Linked DNA regions of Homo sapiens: all the other regions are linked to region 5. Evidence: promoter capture Hi-C in 16 types of primary human blood cells and fetal thymus (Javierre and others, 2016). All regions are on one chromosome and are shown on one strand. Each heading gives the region's core, a stretch centred on a gene start or on the middle of the fragment in contact. The rest is flanking DNA. Distances are from core to core; before and after follow the strand shown.

Region 1 (2,700 bases), core at 39-2,538, 340 kb after region 5:
ACCTCAGGTGATCTGCCCACCTTGGCCTCCCAAAGTGCTGGGATTACAGGTGTGAGCCACCACACCCAGCCCAGAGCCATGGGTCTTCTGTGTCCACTGGCGAATGGATCAGGGGTGGAAAACCAATGCAGGGTCAGCCAATGAGTGGCCCAGCCAGCAGCAGCCCGTGAGGGGCTCCACTGTAAAAACTCCTGTCCACCAAAGAAGAGGCAGTGCCATGAGGTCATAGAAGCCATTGAGAACCAGAACTCTTGATAAGTAGAAGCTTGTAGAGAACAGAAGCCATGAGGCAAAGAAAAGAAGGGTTAGAGGTGAGCTGGTAGTGGCAAAAGTGTGAGAATCAGAGGCAGAAGGAGGCTGTGTCACAGTCATGTCAAAAGGTAGACAATCTCCTGCTGAGAGGGGGACACGTTACTGTCCCCAGAGCTCTGTATCCTGGGCCCCACTTCTGGTTCCCCAGCCATGCTGTAGCTGCAATGAGGCCCAGCTGGGCAGCCACTCTGGTGCCGGCAGTGCCCTGATTCCCCCAATTACCATGTGGGTTCTTCACAATAATTATGTAACCTACCCTCCCACTGGAGGAAGAGAATTATTTGAGATAAACCAAAGAAAGCCATTTACTACAAGCAAGAGAGCTTAGCACATACTTTAAGTAATTAGATTCATTTATTAAACTTTTGAATAAAGGATTTAAAATGTGATTGCAATGGGAAGAAGTGTGGAAGAGGATGGGAAAACACAGGGTAACTGAAGGAAGTGAAGACTAGGGGGTCCCTGGGGTAGGAAGAGAGAGGAAAGACATTGCAAAGAGGGCAAAATGAGGGAGAAGGAGGGGGCAAACTTCTTTATCCACAACCAGTCCAGGCTATTCCAGTCAGAGAGAGAACCCAACTGGAGGCTAGTGTCAGAGGGCAGGAGCAGCTGAGCAGCACAGGGTTGTCCAGGAGAAGATGTTGAGAGGTGGTGTGATACTCAGAGCACGTTCGATGGTGCAGGGAGCAGGTGAGTCCCCCGAGGGGGCCTTGCTCTGTTGATGACTAATCAGAAGTAACAAGATTTTCTGACTTGGAGTTCACTCTCCACTCACAACCAGAATAAAGACCCTGGTCTACTTTCAGAGGACAGAGCTTGCACATCCAAGAAGTTCCTACCACTTCCCCTAAGACAAAAGATGTGGAAGTGAGAACAGGAGACTAAGGGATCAGCATCTTCCTGCTAACCATGGGGTGGATCGGTTTAGGCAAGTCCCCAGCTGCTATCGAACTCCCAGACAGGCCTGACCCTTAACAGCCTCTCTCCATGAGCAGGAGCTTTATTCACTTATTTAGTGACAGAAGCATCAGTCCCAGAAGACATATAGAATAATAGTAACACCAACAATAACAATCACTTATAGGTCCTCACTTATGGGCCTGACATCCTGTCAGGAGCCTTTTACCCAATATCTCACTTCATCTTCACATCAGCCTTCTGAGTGAGGTAAGTTCGATGACTGTCCTCATTTTCCAGATAAGCTGAGGCTCAGGGAGGTTCATTAATTTGATGGAGCTAATTAGAGCAGAAATGGGATCCACACTAGATCTGTCTAATCCAGAGTCTATGCTCTTGGTCACTTGAGCTATACTGACTCCCTCATCAATTATGACAGTTAAAAGGGAATATGGAAGTGGTCTAAGCTCCAAGCCCATCTAAAATATGAAGGCATCTTCGAAACCTCCCCATTTCACTGTACACTTGGAGAATTGTAAGAGTCATCCCATTTGGCCACTGTCTGATGGTGAAATCAAGCCTTGGGCAGCAGCAACTTCCACTTGCAGACATAATCAGAAGTCTCTCATTTATAATACACTGAACTTTTTCTAGAACCTTCCACCTCAGTGTTTCCCCAGGTAGTAGATAAACTGTGAAAAGCCAGGTCTTGAGTTAGCCAAATCAAGCTGATGCAATGAATCAAACACCATCTTCATCAAAGAAAAGGGATCAGCAAATCACTAAACCAACACAGCACTTTGCTGTTTGTCAGCAAGCAGCAACCCCAGACCTTGTTCCAGTGGCCCAGAGACAGCCTTACCTATCTCCTCTGGGAAATCTTCTACAGGACTCTTGAGGAGACTACAGAATCGTGAGGCCAAGTCTGAGAGCTTTGGAGAAAGGAGTAGCAGAAATTCCTTTTACTTCGTCCTTTTTTTATCAGGCTTGTCTTGTTGTTGGCTGAAGAAAAACAGTCTGTTGAACTACATTCTTGTCCAAACAACACAATTAACTTCCTCCTCTTCCTTTTCCTTTCCCTTCTCCTCCTTTTCCGGCTGCCTGAAGCTTCGAGAAAGTAAATTTTGTGTCTTTCATTTAATATTACCTCTGTAGTTGCTGAGACCACAGCTTGCGGAGCTGACTTACAAGTAGGCATCACCCTATAAACTATTATTTGATTTGAAGGAGGGTAGAGGGTCAGTCTGTTCAGGTACTGGACACTAATTTTTTAAATTACTCACCAGATAGTTCCAATGCTGTTAAACTGTTCCAAAGTATAAGAGAGAAAGCAAGCTTTTAGATTATTTTTTTACAAAAGCAATATGACACTGATACTAAAACCTAAAAAATACAGCATTGAATAGAAAAAATGCAGGCAAATTTCTCTCATGAATATGGATTTTAAAAATCTGTAGGGGAGGCCAGGCGCAGTGGCTCACACCTGTAATC
Region 2 (2,700 bases), core at 125-2,624, 400 kb before region 5:
AAAAAATACTGCTTTTATGTGCCAAGTCTCTTATGGAACTAGTATGGGATTAAAGGACGTTAATTGGAAAGGAGGGTCAGTATATAAGGACCACAGTGGCCTGTTAAGGATGACAGATGTCTCTAGCAGTTTGTTCACTACTAAAGTTAAACAGGACAAAATAGTCTTTCCTGACCTTGCTGGCATAAATATTAAGAAAATTGTTTGAGAATTAGATTTTTTTAGTATGTATATAAAAACAGCACCATTCTTTGTATAAATCAGATAGATCTTATCTGATAGATGAAGCTAAGACCCTTTGAGTCTACACTGGGTTGACTCTGAGAGGTTTATATCTTATTGGGTATTAAGATAAAGAAGGGTCACATGAGAGCAAAGCTTAGCTTTGAAGCCATCACCTCCCAAATGGTGACCAAGGAGGAAACTTTTAAGCCATAGTATAGATGCTAACCCCCATTTAGACCTGCATCAGATCACTTGCTAAGACAAGAAATACCAGCACCTCCTGTTCTTTATAGGAATGAAACTTAGATCCTTAAAGGCTGCTACCTGATATACTCATGACTGGACAGTTTTGATAAAAACTTCCAAAATTGAAAATCAAAATCCAGCAAGAATTAAGACATGGCAGCTTCCAAAAGCATAATTCAAATTTCATTCAAAATTTACTGTTTTGGCTTCAAGTAAGTGTTTACTGTTGGTTGGGTTTTAAAGCCATAATTATGGTTGAGTAAGGATTCATTTATTTATTTATTAAATTTTTATACATTTTTGAAAAGATTTCAAATCTATGTTTCCCAGGCTGGTCTTGAGCTCCTGGCCTCAAGCAATCCTCCCACCTTGGCCTCCCAAAGTGTTGGGATTACAGGTGCTAGCCAACTGCATCCAGCCAATGTTTCATTTCAACTGGCTTAAATCTTCAAAGTGGTTAAGAATTTAGTAAATAAAACTACTTAATCTACAACTTTCAAAAATTGATGAGTAATCACTAATTCTGTAAATGAAGGAGTTGGACTTCACTATTGCCAAAGCAACATTTTCCCCAAGGAAAGTCAATTTGATATCCTGTCACACTTTTCAGCCCTGGCTAGTTAACACAGTACTATGAAAATCTTTAGCTAGATTTTAAACGAAATATGCCAGCAGAAGTATGGAATGAGTCCACAAAAATGAGTGCCTGCCACAATGCTATAGTAGCTATGGTGTATTTAGTGCAGAGTGTGGGATGAATAAGTACATAGTAATTAAAGTCATAGTCCTGGCCCAACAGAACAGTTACTAAATGTAAGATACAAACTAAACTCACAGTCATATTTAGAAGGCGCTTTTCAGCTTTAGCACTGACTTAAAAAGTCTGAACCACCAGGAAGATGCGTACTTAACTGGTTAAAAAATTAAGTGGCCCTGGAAAGTTTTACCCCAAAGATACAACTTCTTCACTTATTTAGTTCAGTAATGAGGCTGAGGGACCCAATTTTCAAGTGTGCATTTGAGTGGGAAACTTTTAAACACCATATGTTGAAGTTTCATGAGCTCAGTGGAAACCTTAAGGTCAGAGTAAAAGAAACTGGCTGTAAACAGCCCTGCAGTGAAGAGACTGGGTCTTAGCACCTTCCACATTCACTCAGCGCCATCTCAGTCAGCGCCTGCCAGGGAAAGGGCATGGAGAGCTGGGACGGGTGCCTTCTCTTTTGCACCACTCCCTTTGCATATTACACAGTGCACTGGCTTGCCTTACAATCTAAGGTTCACATACAGGGGGTTTTCTATACTGCTTCCGGACATTTTTTGCAAAAGAACATCAGAACCAATGAAGGTACCATTTCAGGAGGAATCATTTTTGTTTGACTTCTGCTATATGTTGCCCAGCATTAGTCATTGTTTTGATAAAGACTAAAAGGCCTTTTCTCAACATTTGTGCTCTCCCAACCACCTGGGAAAGCAACCCTTCCACTCACAAGAGGTAACCTCAGATAGGGATATAGTATTCATTTAAGAAGGGGTAGCCCCCCAGCCTGATTTAAAAAGGCCCAAGTCAATGTATGGAACATGACAAGGGAAGTGAAAAACAATGGAGTACACAGTCTGCCTTGAAAAGCAGCCATTTGATGAACAGTCACAAATACAAAGAATTTGGACATTGTAACATAATTTCAGAACTTGCTGGTAAGAATAATTTGCATTCACACACAAGAGACATGAAATGCTTTTTAAAAGTCTGTGATACCAGATGTCCTTTAAACACTACACAGACCCATTTGCCACTTGAAATGACAAGAAGAAATCCTTTCCCTTAATCTTTTCAATTCCATGCAAACCGTAATTGAGTACAAGGCACCAAATTTTATGAATTGTATAAAATTAGTTCACAAAGCTTTATCAGTAAGTAGAACAAACTCCATTTCTCCCTCCCGGCCAGCCCACCCTCCTCCCACCCACCACCCGCCATCCCCGACCAAGTTTTCATTCTGCACTACTGTCGACCTCTCTAGGGCTTATGCTGGGGCATGCCCCACTGTCAGCCAATCCACCTCATTGGTTCTTCCCTTGTACTTGGATGAAGCTGTAAGCACAGCCAGAGTAGCAAACTCATACAATCATTGACTCTAGAAGCCTTGCCATTAAAAACAAAAATAAACTCTGCTATTGAGTCCATAGGACACATTAACACTTCTACAGTTTCCAATTTTATTCATGACA
Region 3 (2,700 bases), core at 42-2,541, 360 kb before region 5:
TTTGATTGGCATTTATTGAATTTATAAACTTATTTAGGGAAAATTACCTCTTTATTATATGAAGTCCTCCCATCCATGAACATGCTATCTCTCTGTTTATCCAGGTCTTTTGATTATGTTTTCTCCCCAAGATATATATTTCTTGTTTAGATATTTCCTGGATACTTTATAGTTTTTTTGTGGCTACTATGAATAGAATCTTTAAAAAAGTATACATTTACTAAATGATTATTGCTGGTAGACAGGAATGTGATTGATTTCTGTATTAGGTTTAATCATATGAAACTGCAAATAAATATTTAACGACCATTTTGACCTACATAAATTATAATTTTGTATGGTTGAATCAAAAGGTTGCTGATCTGAAACTCAGCAACTTTGCAGAACTATTATTATTAGTTCTAATAATTTGTGGATTCTCTTGAATTTTTTTTTTTTTTTAAGATGGTGTTTCGCGCTTGTTGCCCAGGCTGGAGTGCAATGGCACGATCTTGGCTCACTGCAACCTCGCCTCCCGGGTTCAAGCGATTCTCCTGCTTCAGCCTCCCAAGTAGCTGGGATTACAGGCATGCAACACAATGCCCGGCTAATTTTGTATTTTTAGTAGAGATGGGGTTTCTCCATGTTGGTCAGGCTGGTCTTGAACTCCTGACCTCAGGTGATCTGCCCACCTCAGCCTTCCAAAGTGCTGAGATTACAGGCGTGAGCCACCGCGCCTGGCGGATTCTCTTGAATTTTCTATGGATGTCTACATAGTCTTCAAATATAGACAGCTTGGTCCTCTCTTTCTTGTCTTCTGGAATTAACCAGGAAGTTCAGTTGATTAGTAAATATTAAGGCTGATAGTGGGCACCATGTACTGTTCTTAACTTGAGAGGGAACAGGTCTGTAGTTTTACTGTTAAGTGTGATGTCTACCAAAGGAAGTTTTGGTTAACTTTAGGTTAAGAAAGTTTTTTATTTCTAGCTTTGTGAAAAAAATTTAATCAGACTAAATATTAAAGTTCATATAATGTTTTCTTCTGAACCTATTAAGAAAATAAGAAGAACTTCCCCTTTTAAAAATTAATATGTTGGATGATATCAGTGATGTATTTTCTGATATGAAACCATCCTTGCATATAATAATTTAAACAAACTATTTGGTCTTGATGTTTTGTTTTTTAATACAATAATACATTCAATTTGCTAGTACTGTTTAGATGTTTCAAATCCATTTTTAGAAGATTAGCCTTTCATTTTCTTATAATATACTGACCTTCCCTGTTTTGTACCAAGATTATACTAACCTCAAAACCTGAGATAGCAGCTTTCCCACTTTATCTCTTCTCTAAAACAGTTTAATTCTTCTATGGTTTATCTGTTCCATGAAGGTCTGATAAAACTTACCTGTAAACCTGTCTCATCTAGGCATTTTGTAGGATTGTTTCAATGTTTAATATAGCTAAGTTCAGATGAAGATCCAAAAATCCTCCCAGTGATCACAGGTCTCCAAGTCTTGGGAAATTATGCCTTGGTAACCTAGTGTCTACTTTAACCCCTACAGAAATTCCATATAAGTTTATACTTTTGAAAATAAATAAATAGTATGTTAATGACAGACAATGATGGAGCAAACAAAACAGATTTGCAACCAATTCAAATTTAGGAAAGCAGGCCAGGCGTGGTGGCTCACACCTGTAATCTCAGTACTTTGGAAGGCCAAGCCAGTGGATCACCTGAGGTTAACCAGTTCGAGACCAGCCTGGCCAACATGGTGAAACCCCATCTGTACTAAAAATACAAAAATTAGCTGGGCATGGTGGTGCATACCTGTAATCCCACTCAGGAGGCTGAAGCAAGAGAATCACTTGAACCTGGGAGGTGGCGGTTGCAGTGAGCCAAGATCGCACCACTGCACTCCAGCCTGGGCAACAGAGCAAGACTCCGTCTCAAGAGAAAAAAAAAAAATTTAGGAAAGCAGCACGAAGCACCAGTGCTGACTGGCCAAGAGATTGTTATACACTGGTGCTACCTGTACAGGCTGATTGATAGGAACCTCCACACAAGATAACCTGCATTGTCACTATAAAAGGTAGAGCTATCGACTGGGATTGGTGACTCATGCCTGTAATCCCAGCACTTTGGGAGGCAGAGGTGGGCAGATCACCTGAGGTCAGGAGTTCAAGACCAGCCTGGCTAACATGGTGAAACCCCGTTTCTACTAAAAATACAAAAAATTGCCAGGCGCAGTGGCTCACGCCTGTAATACCAGCACTTTGGGAGGCTGAGGCGGGCAGATCACGAAGTCAGGAGTTTAAGACCAGCCTAACCAACATGGTGAAACCCCGTCTCTACTAAAAATACAAAAATTAGCCGGGCGTGGTGGCATGCACCTGTAACCCCAGCTACTCAGGAGGCTGAGGCAGGAGAATCGCTTGAACCCAGGGGGTGGAGGTTGCAGTGAGCCGAGATTGTGCCGCTGCACTCCAGCCTGGGCAACAGAGCGAGACTCCATCTCAAAACAGAAATAAAAATAAAAATAAATAAAAATACAAAAAATTAGCTGGGCGTGGTGGTGCGCACCTGTAATCCCAGCTACTCGGGAGTCTGAAGCAGGAGAATTGCTTGAACCCAGGAGGCAGAGGTTGCAGTGAGCCGAGACCGTAACATTGCACTCCAGCTTGGGCAACAAGAGCAAAACTCCATCTCAAAAAAAAAA
Region 4 (2,700 bases), core at 40-2,539, 320 kb before region 5:
GGCAAGATGAACCTATGTTAGGCTGAAGATAGTTGTTTATTCATATATAACTATAAACATCATATACACCCTAAGATATACAGTAAAAGGTAAAGATATAGAACTTTATCCTCACACATAGTCTAGCAGCATACTCAGAGATGAAGTCAAAAGAAAACTTCTCATGAAAAAAACTAAAAAGCTTTTGCCACCATGGTTAACCGTATCTGAGATGGTTTAACTCTTGGAATGTATCAGAGAAAAATTTATGTGTGGATGGCTGGCACATAAAAAGGCTAACTGGGATACATATGAGAATTATAGTTAACATTTACTAAACACTTACTTCATTCCAGACATTATTTCAAGTTTTTTATATGGATTAACTAATCAATTGCTAAGAGATAGCATTTTATTGTCCTCACCTTATATCCAAGGAATTGAGGCACAGAGATAACATGTCCAAATGTCAAGTTAATAGTGACTGGTTAAAAACGGTCTGGCTCCAAATCCATGTTTTTAACCACTAGGCAAAGAAGGTTGCACAAATACATGCCATATACTTATAGACTCTGGGAGGAGGGTAAGATTCAGGTAGAGGATTGTAGTTATCTGTTATTTTTAAATTATTGACATGAATGTATAAACTTGCATAATTAAAAAAACTTTTATATCTCATAAACTTAAAGTCAAACCTTTTACTGAGCTTTCTGTAGAATTCTATTTTTTAAGAAGGTCTTGCTCTGTTGCCCAGGCTGGAGTGCAGTGGAATGATTATAGCTCACTACAGCCTCAATCTCCTGGGCTCAAGCAATCCTGTCACCTTAGCCTCCCGAGTAGCTAGCCACCACACCTGGCTAATTTTTTTTTTTTTTTTTGGTAGAGATGAGGTCTTGCTATATTGCCCAGGCTGGCTAGAATTCCTGGTCTCAGCCAGGCACAGTGGCTCACGCCTGTAATCCCAGCACTTTGGGAGGCATATCCCAGCACAAGGTGGGCAGATCACTTGAGGTCAGGAGTTTGAGACCAGCCTGGCCAACATAATGAAACCCCGTTTCTACAAAAATACAAAAATTAGCCAGGTGTCGTGGCGGGTGCCTGTAGTTCCAGCTAGTTGGGAGGCTGAGGCAAGAGAATTGCTTGCACCCGGGAGGCAGAGGTTGCAGTGAGCCACGATCACACCACTGCACTCCAGCCTGGGCAACAGAGCAAGACTCCATCTCAAAACTAAATAAATAAATAAAAGAATTCCGGGCCTCAAGCCATCCTCCCACCTCAACCTCCCAAAGCAGAATTCTATTTGATTACCACCAGACACACATCTGCACTTGCTCAAATGAACGGGATCCTCGTGGTGGGACAAACATCATAGCAACTGACATATTTGGAGAAAAAGAAGGGGTAGATAATTACTCTTGACAGGTCATGACAGATACGATCTCTATCTTACCACCAAGTTTCAAGACCTACCCTAGACTTGTTTCAGTATGGTTGCTGGTCTTTAGGTCCCATTTTAACTTCAAATATGGCTGTGTCCCCTCTTAGCTTAAGTTAATTCGTGGTACTAAAAAATTCACAAGGTTAAGATGAAAGCAAGCGGTGAAAGTTCAGAATGGAGTTAGACAAAACAGTAACTGATCAATTACCCTCATAGTATGCCAACCTCAGCCACACATAATACTATTATTATAAATAGCTTTCATTAATAATGTTTTATTACAGTTTTTATTTCTTACCCATTAAACAAGTTTTTTCCATCTTCTTCCATATTATTCCACAGTCATTGGTTAGGTTTCCTCTTCTCTATTACCTACAAGTGGGAAACAATCTGTAAGATTGGGCTAATACATGGCAAGAAAAAAGCAATTTCATTAATTGTAATACAAATTCAAAAAAGGACCAGTAAATTACAATGCATTAAACTCCCTACAAGTCCTTAAAACTGATGTAAGAGTAAAAAAAAAACTGTGATCTTTCTTTTCAGCTAAGAGTAACCAAAGAGTCAGTCACTTATGGGTAGACTGATCTACAAATGGAAGTATTAAAGGTTTACTTCCTGAAAAAAAGCACTTCTGCATTTGTTTTAGGTCTTAAAAATTACACATTATATTTGCATACAATCTGAAACTCAGGAAAAAACACACAAATTCATGGTAACAAAAATACTCGAATATCAAAAGCTAAAATTATTTTTGCGTAAGCAAAATATATAACAAGATGGCATGAGGTGGTGACTCTTTTGTGCTAAGTGGGTTTATGACCTATATGTAAGCGGCATGCTTCTTTAAAAGCGGTATATATTCTGTACACAAGGACAATATATTAGCCAAAGACATCTAGAGTTTATGATTTTGACAAATTATATGTATAAGCATGTTTAAGGTTTCTGACACATTATCAGGAAGTAGGACTCAGTATTAAGCTTGAGATCGGCAAGCTGGGCCACCACTGTAAGAGGAAAGAAAATTCTCTATTGTGTCATCCTAACAGCTAACACAGAGTTCCTCTTCGAAGAAACTTTAAGAAAATATGTTCCCGGCCGGGCGTCCGCCGCCCCATCTGGGAAGTAAGGAGCCCCTCTGCCTGGCCGCCGCCCCGTCTGGGAAGTGAGGAGTGCCTCTGCGCGACTGCTGTGCAACCATCCAAGTATGAAGTGACAGCCTTGTGTGTTATCTTTCTGTCCTCCCCAAGTTTGCATTTTCGACATTAAAGTTTACTTTT
Region 5 (2,700 bases), core at 194-2,693:
AATAACAAAAGTCTGCCCCTCCCACCCAGGGTTGCTGCTGATTCAGAGGAGACCTAAGAGAGGCGGAGCGCTGAGAAGTCCGAAACTGGCTCTGTGCCCTGTGGGGTGGTCGATGGGGTTCATCTCTAAGGAGGTTCTGTTGAATTGAAGGTGCTGACCTCACCCTCCTGTCCCGGGACAGGCACTGTGGGGACGTGCACTGACTGGTACCAGCGACAGGATGAGACCTGAAGTGGCATTCCCAGTGATTCAGCTTAGAAAGCTAAGTTCTCCACGCACTGAGGAATGGAGAACTGACACTTTCTTCAGATTAAATTGGTATTTGAGGCAAATACCAGGGCATTTGAGGTATTTGAGGTATTTGAGGATTGCCAGGGCACTGAACTGGATAACCTTAAATAATCAAGGGGTTTTTAACTGAATTGAAATTTAAAATTCAATCCCCTGGTGCATTTACAAGATGTGTTATCTTCTTAGCTGCTAGTGACATTGTGGGCTTAGAGAAACTCTAGTCTGAATGATTTAATGAAACCTTCCAGGACTTGAAGAGCTGAAAGGGGCTTTTGCAGTCATTCGCCCAGTCTCCCAATACATGCAGGAGCCTCTTCCAGCATTCTTGACAGGGAGGATCTGACCAGTCTCAGAAGAACCCCAACAAGAGGGAGCTCATAGCCCATGCTAAGATACCTTGTCTCATTTAGAACATCTCTTTTGCTCCTAGTGTTTAGAGTGACAGGGGCTCTGGCAGATGCGAAAACCCGGTCATTGGGCTGCAGAGTCTTGGTCAAAAATACACAAAGAGAGGACCTGGACTGTCTGCCAGTCGCCCTTCAGCTCTCAAGAAGAGGACACAGGGAGCATCAGCCGACAGCTAAGAGATGGAGGGAGGGAAGGAGAGACAGAGAAGATGGAAAGGGACAAAAGGAAGAGAAGAGACAGAAGGGTTTGGTGAGTGAGACAGAAAAGGTAAAGAGAGACGGAGTGGAAAGAAGAGCAGAGAAAGAGCCGAGGAGTGGGGAACTGGGAGCTCTCCCTGAGGACACTTGTGGAGGAAGGCGCCAGGTGGACTGGCCACTGGTCCTTCCCTTCAGGGTGCCTTACCCCATTCTTGTCGAAGGCTCGGAACATGCCCTCTACATACTGGGAGGCCTCCTCATCGTCTGTGACCTTGAAGAAGCGCTTAAACTCATGCATAAAGAGTGTGCCGCTGGGGCACTCCATCACAAACTTCTTGTACCACTCCTGGAGCTCCGCCACATCTATCTCGCCAGCTGCCTCCGCCTCCTCCCAGCTAAACTCCTGCCCCATGCTAGCCCTGAGGAGCATCAGGGAGCAAGGGTCTGTATCTCCTCCCTGGCTTCTGCTGATGGATCTCTCCAACTAGGGCCCTCTTCCTCCCTTTCCAGGAGGCCTGATCAGCCTCTCCATCATCTCCTGGGTGACTGAACATGATCAGTCGGTGCAGGGGGCAGGTGGCAAGGGAGGTGGGTCCAGGCCAGCTAAGCTGCCCTAAGACTATTAGAAGATTCCCCAGGTGGCCGGGTGCGGTGGCTCATGCCTGTAATCCCAGCACTTTGGGAGGCCGAGGTGGGTGGATCACAAGGTCAGGAGTTCGAGACCAGCCTGGCCAACATGGTGAAATCCTGTCTCTACTAAAAATACAAAAAATTAGCTGGGCATGGTGGTGGGTACCTGTAATCCCAGCTATTCAGGAGGCTGAGGCAGGAGAATCACTTGAACCTGGGAGATAGAGGTTGCAGTGAGCTGCGATCACACCACTGCACTCCAGCCTGGGGGACAGAGTGAGACTCTGTCTCAAAAAAAAAAAAAAAAAAAAAAAAAGAGATTCCCCAGGAAGTTCTGACCTCCAGCCTAAACTCCTCCAGCCTCACTCCTTCCCTTAGCCTTGTCAACAAAGCAACCAAGCTGGCCCTGGTAGACTCTGAAGAGGTAGAAGGGGAAGAAACTGAGAGGTAAGCAGAGAGATGCAGAGTGAAGAAAGAGTCGGGGTGCTAGGCTGGGATCCTCCCATCTCACTCACTCCCTATCTCTTTAGCTGGGCCTCACATTGCTTCAGGGAGGCCCATCTTGGAGACAGGAGACTCAAATCCAGAGAGGAAGTGAGATCAAGTCCTAGGCCATAAAACAGAATCTGCTGGTGATCTGGGACTCGCCCCTCAGACGGTCTAGTGAAAAGAGGCAGAATCTATGATGGGAAGGGCTCTAGGTGAGCAACTCTCTTCCCAGGCTAACTCGGTCCCTGAAGCTCCTTTCCAGATTACACCTTTCATCTTGGGAGCTTTTCACTTTCTGATTTAAACTACAAATGCCTCCCTCCAACCCTTCACACAAGACCTAGGGGTAGTGCCTTTTTCACATTTCCTCCAAAATACTAACATGTGAGAAGGATCTGGGAGCATGGCCTAAAATATCTTTGAAGGCTCTTACTTTTACATTATAGGTCATGTAAAATTTGCTTTTGAACAATTACATATTCATGCTTATTTTAATGTAACATAAAAATGACACCTCCAAGAAATCAAAAGACCAGGGACACACATTTTTCTTTTTCTTTGCTTTTTTTTTTTAAATTTCTATTTTTTGAGACAGGGTCTCGCTCTGTCGCCCAGGCTGGAGTGCAGTGGTGTGATCTCGGCTCACTGCAACTTCCGCCTCCGGGTTCAAGTGATTCTCATGCCT

Evidence for each region. The method cuts DNA at HindIII sites, captures the fragments that hold promoters and counts their contacts. A CHiCAGO score of 5 or more calls a contact.
Region 1: a contact is called between a fragment that was not itself captured here and the fragment with the promoter of GUCA1B in region 5, in 1 of 17 cell types (endothelial precursors). The highest score is 6.0, in endothelial precursors.
Region 2: a fragment that was not itself captured here is called in contact with the fragment with the promoter of GUCA1B in region 5 in 6 of 17 cell types (erythroblasts, megakaryocytes, endothelial precursors and 3 more); the score reaches 7.2 in erythroblasts.
Region 3: a contact is called between a fragment that was not itself captured here and the fragment with the promoter of GUCA1B in region 5, in 5 of 17 cell types (naive CD4 T cells, naive CD8 T cells, non-activated CD4 T cells and 2 more). The highest score is 7.9, in naive CD4 T cells.
Region 4: a contact is called between a fragment that was not itself captured here and the fragment with the promoter of GUCA1B in region 5, in 2 of 17 cell types (naive CD8 T cells and naive CD4 T cells). The highest score is 5.8, in naive CD8 T cells.

Annotation. Positions count from the first base shown.
Region 1 is chr6:42,535,977-42,538,676 of GRCh38, forward strand. No RefSeq gene overlaps it. Among named protein-coding and RNA genes, the nearest start is that of UBR2, 27 kb to the right of the region's middle. The HindIII fragment of the contact is 2,051 bases long and covers 264-2,314 here.
Region 2 is chr6:41,790,521-41,793,220 of GRCh38, forward strand. It overlaps USP49 (ubiquitin specific peptidase 49), which reads right to left. Exons shown (of 8, transcript NM_001286554.2): 8 at 1-2,700. Among named protein-coding and RNA genes, the nearest start is that of TOMM6, 4.2 kb to the left of the region's middle. The HindIII fragment of the contact is 1,996 bases long and covers 377-2,372 here.
Region 3 is chr6:41,828,891-41,831,590 of GRCh38, forward strand. The region is part of intron 3 of USP49 (ubiquitin specific peptidase 49); the gene reads right to left. Among named protein-coding and RNA genes, the nearest start is that of TOMM6, 43 kb to the left of the region's middle. The HindIII fragment of the contact is 3,275 bases long and covers 1-2,700 here.
Region 4 is chr6:41,869,849-41,872,548 of GRCh38, forward strand. USP49 (ubiquitin specific peptidase 49) reads right to left here. Exons shown (of 8, transcript NM_001286554.2): 3 at 1,716-1,789. Among named protein-coding and RNA genes, the nearest start is that of USP49, 24 kb to the right of the region's middle. The HindIII fragment of the contact is 2,220 bases long and covers 180-2,399 here.
Region 5 is chr6:42,193,513-42,196,212 of GRCh38, forward strand. GUCA1B (guanylate cyclase activator 1B) reads right to left here and starts at 1,444. Exons shown (of 4, transcript NM_002098.6): 1 at 1,102-1,444. The coding sequence starts at 1,308. The HindIII fragment of the contact is 7,472 bases long and covers 1-2,700 here.